Linked DNA regions of Homo sapiens: region 2 is linked to region 1. Evidence: promoter capture Hi-C in 16 types of primary human blood cells and fetal thymus (Javierre and others, 2016). All regions are on one chromosome and are shown on one strand. Each heading gives the region's core, a stretch centred on a gene start or on the middle of the fragment in contact. The rest is flanking DNA. Distances are from core to core; before and after follow the strand shown.

Region 1 (2,700 bases), core at 110-2,609:
TTTCAAAACGAAAGCTGTTGTAGAGTGCGTGTGCTAACTAGATGTGAAGGCAACCGCAGAAGTCATAGCTCTCTGCAAGGACAAGTGGGACGGAACTTGCAAATAGCCGCCACAAACGCAAATGTCACCAACCTGCTTTAGACAGGAGTGGGAGGGGTCCTCTGGCTTCCTTTATCTCTAGAGTAAAATTTTTCAGCCATTTCAGTCTTGGTTGACTTATTTTGGCAAATAAACAAGTATGCCCCCCTCCACCGCCCATCCCCCAAGCCTGAGAGCACTTCAAGAGTTTGTAAAATAAAAAGCAACAGGAAACCAGAAACGCAGCAACGTCTGCATCGTGGGTCCCCGGCACAAACACAAGTACAAAACGCACACCCGCGCCCTTATTTCATTTCTAACGCCTTCCCAGGATAGGCATCATCTGGAAGAGTTACAAGCGTGGGAGGCGCAGGAAGGGAGCCCCAGGAAGTTTCTGTCTGTCGGGCGCCGGTATTTAATGAGGGGGTGTGCACCTATTTATACGTGGGCAGCGCTCGGGCAAACAAGTCTGGCGACATACGAGAAGCTTTTCACCCAGCAAATAATAGGAGACTGTGCAGCCCTGGGAAACCGCTCACGAGAGAAGGAAGCTGGGAGTTTAAGGAATTTCCTTTAAGGAAATTGCCCGTGGGGGCATCGGTTTCAGGGGGTAGGAGACGGGGGCAGGAGCCGGCAAGGAGCGGCACGGAAGGTCGGGGACCCCAGTCGGGCCGCGCCGGCCCCGGGAGCACCTGGATCCCCAGCCCCCTCGACCCCCGGCGCGCTGGGCTCGCGCACACCCAACCCCGGCCCCATCTCCGTCCCCCGCCGCCTCAGCTCCGGCGCTCCCGGCCCGCGCACACCCTGACCCCGGCCCCCTCAGCCCCGGCGCCTCTGGGCCCGAGCGCCCGGCGGGAGCGGGGAGCGCGGCTTCCGGTTCACCTGCGCGCCGGTCGGCTCGGGCCGCGGAGGCCGGCGGGGGGCGGCAGCGGAGCTCTCGGAGAGCCCGGGCGGACACAGGCCCTGCCCCCGCGCCGTCCCCCGCCCCTGGCCGGCGCCTCCCGGGCCCCAGCCGTTCGCGCGTGAGGGGTCAGGGACGCCGCTTGCCCGCCCGCCCGCCGCCGCCCGCCGCCCGCCGCCCGCCGCCCGCTCGCCTGGGTCTTGTCGAACTGCTCGCGCTCGGCCTCCAGGCTGTGGCCCGGCCTGCGGCTCAGCACCCGCGCCGGCACGTTCTTGATGCTGTTCATCCTGCCGCCGCCGCCCGCTTTTGTCCGGCTCCGTCCGCGCGACTCACAGCCTCACGGTCCGGCAGCCCCAGCCTAGGCACCGCGAGGCCACCGCGCCGCGCCCGGGCCCGCCCGCCGGGGAGGAGCCCGCCTCGCCCCGCCCCCAACTCCAGGGCACGCCCCTCCCCCGCACACCTCCAAACCCGCCCCCCGCGCCCGCAAACGCCTCGCCCGCCCCCAACTCCAGGGCGCGCCCCTCCACCCGCACACCTCCAACCCCACCCCCCGCGATCTCGGGACACGCGCCTCTCCCCGCACATCCCCAACCCCCCATCCCGCGGCGACCCCGGCACACGCCCCGCCCCCCGCACACCTCCAACCCCCACCTCACTCACAAGGTTGGGGCACAGGCCAAACGCCCCCCCAGCTCCTCCCCACCTCTAATCCCCTCCCTAAACCCGGAGGGGAGGGTAGGGGAAGGGGGAGGGGGAACCCCTCCCTCCTCCTTCCACCCAGGGTAGGGACCCCAGCCAATTCCCTCTCCCCACCCCTCCTCCGAACTCACTAAGTCTTGTCTGCACCAGGGCAAGATCTGGTTAATTGGAGAAAATCTGGCCTCCATGAGTCTGGTCGGTGGCAGCACAGATAGACGCTTTTTTTCCTTTTTGGTCTTAATGTATGTGTCAAAAGGCACACAATGACACTCTCCCCTCTTTGTGCAATTCTGACATAGCTGCAGCTGTTATCCATGCGGGGATGCAGGATGCATTTCCAGAGACGCCGCCGGCTCCGCAACCGGACACCTCGCCAGCTCCAGGGACAATGGGGGCTGAGGCCGGGCGCTGTTAGGCTGGCACAGAAGGCAGGCGGATCTGAACAGCAAAGTACACCGAGGAGATGCCGCCAGGGGTGGCGTGAGGCTTTTTAAAAACATTATTATTGGCTTTCCCTTAAAATTACTGGTCACAAGACTGAAGTAAAAAAATAAATAAAAGCCCAGAGTCCTCTCTAAGCGTAGCTCTCAGATGGGTATTGTGTTTCTGCTGTTTCCCTTTCCTATCGGAATGCAGATGTGGAATCATGCATAAAGGTCCCTTGCTTTTGAAGGGAGAGGCACCGCCTGCCTGTAAGGAGGAAAATGACGCCCACGTAATCCTGACCCTTGTCTCCCTAGTGAGACTGTAACCTGTCTGAGGTCAGAGACCCTTTCCTTTCCTTTCCTTTCCTTTCCTTTCCCTTTCCCTTTCCTTTCCTTCCTCCTTCTTTTCTTTCTTTTCTCTCTTTCTCTCTCTTCTTTCTTTCTCTTTCTTTCTTTCTTTTCTTTTCTTCTCTTTCTTTCTTTTCTTTTTTTTTAACCGAGCTTCACTCTTGTTGCCTAGGCTGGAGTGCAATGGCACAATCTCACCTCACCGCAACCTCCGCCTCCTGGGTTCAAGCAATTCTCCTGCCTCAGCCT
Region 2 (2,700 bases), core at 14-2,513, 140 kb before region 1:
TAGCAAGTATAGCCACAGCACACACAGCCTCCCCCACCATCACCATCCCACACGAGCCAGTACATTTGTTATGGTCAGTGAACCCACACTGACACCTCATTATCATCCAAAGCTGGCAGTTTACATTAGGATTCATATATTCTATAGTTTTTGGCTGGGCGCAGTGGCTCACACCTGTAATCCCAGCACTTTGGGAGGTCGAGGTGGGCAGATCGCTTGAACTCAGGAGTTCGAGACCAGCCTGGTCAACATGGCAAAATCCCGTCTCTATGAAAAATACGAAAATTAGCTGGTTGTGGTGGCACACCTATGATCCCAGCTACTCAGGAGGCTGAGGTGGGAGAATCACTTGAACCTGGGAAGCAGAGGTTGCATGGGCAGAGGTCATGCTGCTGAACCCCAGCCTGGGTGACAGAATGAGACCCTGTCTCAAAAAAATCATTAAAAATTAAATAAACATATTCTATAGTTTTTTTGTTGTTTTTGTTTGTTTTTGATTTTTTTTTTTTTTTTTTTTGAGATGGAGTCTCACTCTGTCGCCCAGGCTGGACTGCAGTGGCATGATCTCAGCTCACTGCATCTTCCACCTCCTGGGTTCAAGCGATTTTCCTGCCTCAGCCTCCTGAGTAGCTGGGATTACAGGGGTGTGCCACCACACTTGGCTAATTTTTTTTTATATTTTTGGTAGAGACAGGGTTTCACCATATTGGCCAGGCTGGTCTCGAACTCCTGACCTCAGGTGATCCACCCGCCTTGGCCTCCCAAAGTGCTGGGATTACAGGCCTATAGTTTTTGACAAATGTATGTGGCATGCATCTACCATTACAGTATCATATGGAGTAGTTTCACTGCCCTAAAAATCCTCTGTGCCCTGCCTACTCACCCCTTCCTTCTCACTAACCCTTGGCAAACACTGATCTTTGTACTGTCTCCACCGTTTTGCCTTTTCCAGAATGTCATATGGTAGGAATCATACAGTAGGGAGCTTTTTCAGATTGCTTCCTTCTCTTAGGAATGTGCATTGAAGGTTCCTCCGTGCCTTTTCATGGCTTGATAGCTCATTTCATTTTAGCACTGAATAATATTCTGTTGTCTGGGTGTACCACAGTGCATCCATTCACCTGCTGAACGACATCATAGTTGCTTCCAAGTTTAGGCAATTACGAATAAAGCTTTATTTTATTTTATTTTTGTTTATGTTTTAGTCGATAAATCATTTTACATGCTCATGGGGTATGTAGTGATGTTTCAATACATATAATGCATAGTGATCAGATCAGGGTCATGAGCATATATATCATCTCAAACATCTATCATTTCTTCGTGTTGGAAACATTCAATAGAATAAAGCTTCCAGGCTGGGTGTGGTGGCTCACACCTGTAATCCCAGCACTTTGGGAGGCCGAGGCAGGTGGATCACCTGAGGTCAGGAGTTCTAGACCAGCCTGGCCAATATGGTGAAACTTCATCTCTACCAAAAATACAAAAATTAGCCAGGCGTGGTGGCATGCGCCTGTAATCCCAGCTACTTGGGAGGCTGAGGCAGGAGAGTCACTGGAGCCTAGGAGGTGGGGGTTGCAGTGAGCCGAGATCACACCACTGCCCTGCAGCCTGGGTGACAGAGCAAGAGTTCATCTCAAATAAATAAATAAATAAATTAGCCGGGCATGGTGGCAGGCTTCTGTAATCCCAGCTGATCGGGAGGCTGAGGCAGGAGAATCACTTGACCCCGGGAGGCGGAGGTTGCAGTGAGCTGAGTTCATGCCATTGCACTCCAGCCTGGGAGACAGAGTGAGACTCCATCTCGAAAGTAATAATGATAAAGCTTCTATAAACATCTGTGGACAGGTGTTTCTGTAGACGTAAATTTTTACTTCCTCTGGGTAAATATCACAGAGTGTGATTGCCTGATCATGTAGTAAGAGCATAGTTAGTTTTATAAAAAAACCTGCCGAACTGCCTTCCTCCCTAGCTGGACTGTTTTGCATTCCCAGCAGCAATGAATGAGAGTCCCTGTTGTTCCTCATCGCTGACAGCATTTGGTGTTGTCAGTGTTCCAGATCTCAGCTATTCTAGTGTGTGTGTATTGATATCACATTGCTGTTTTAATTTGCATTTCCTTTATGGCATATGGCATGGAGTGTTTTTTCTTTCTCTTTTTTTTTTTTTTTGAGACAGGGTCTCTGTCGCCCAGGCTGGAGTTCAGTGGTATGGACACAGCTCATTGCAGCCTCAACATCCCAGGTTCAAGCAATCCTCCCACCTCAGCCTCCTGAGTAGCTGGGACTACAGGCATGTGCCACCACACCCAGCTAATTTTTTAAATTGTTTGTAGCAACTGGGTCCCACTGTGTTGCCCGGGCTGGGTTCAAGTGATCCTGCCACCTTGGCCTCCCAAAGTGCTGGGATTACAGGCATAAGCCACATTGCCTGGACTTCCTTTTGTAATAATAGCTTTATTGAGATACACTGTACATACCATACAATTCACCAAATTAAAGTTTACAATTCAAGAGTTTTTAGTATATTCACAGAGTTGTGCAACCATCACTACAATCAACTTTTAGAACATTCCTCACCCAAAAAGACACCGTATCCATTAGCAGTCACTCACACAATGGTTCTTAGTCCAAGTTTACCAGAGCCAGTCTCTGTGACTAGGCTGGGGATGCAAATGGGACCACTCAAGCCAGTTGGCTG

Evidence for each region. The method cuts DNA at HindIII sites, captures the fragments that hold promoters and counts their contacts. A CHiCAGO score of 5 or more calls a contact.
Region 2: a contact is called between a fragment that was not itself captured here and the fragment with the promoter of HIP1R in region 1, in 9 of 17 cell types (naive CD4 T cells, total CD8 T cells, naive B cells and 6 more). The highest score is 7.7, in naive CD4 T cells.

What each region holds. Positions count from the first base shown.
Region 1 is chr12:122,834,116-122,836,815 of GRCh38, reverse strand. HIP1R (huntingtin interacting protein 1 related) reads right to left here and starts at 1,359. Exons shown (of 32, transcript NM_003959.3): 1 at 1,173-1,359. The coding sequence starts at 1,265. LOC124903040 (a long non-coding RNA gene) reads left to right here and starts at 1,583. Exons shown (of 2, transcript XR_007063501.1): 1 at 1,583-1,642; 2 at 1,978-2,261. RefSeq lists silencers at 848-1,047, 1,218-1,457 and an enhancer at 1,708-1,757. The HindIII fragment of the contact is 2,457 bases long and covers 568-2,700 here.
Region 2 is chr12:122,969,204-122,971,903 of GRCh38, reverse strand. It overlaps a transcript of ABCB9 not described here. Among named protein-coding and RNA genes, the nearest start is that of ABCB9, 4.1 kb to the right of the region's middle. The HindIII fragment of the contact is 178 bases long and covers 1,175-1,352 here.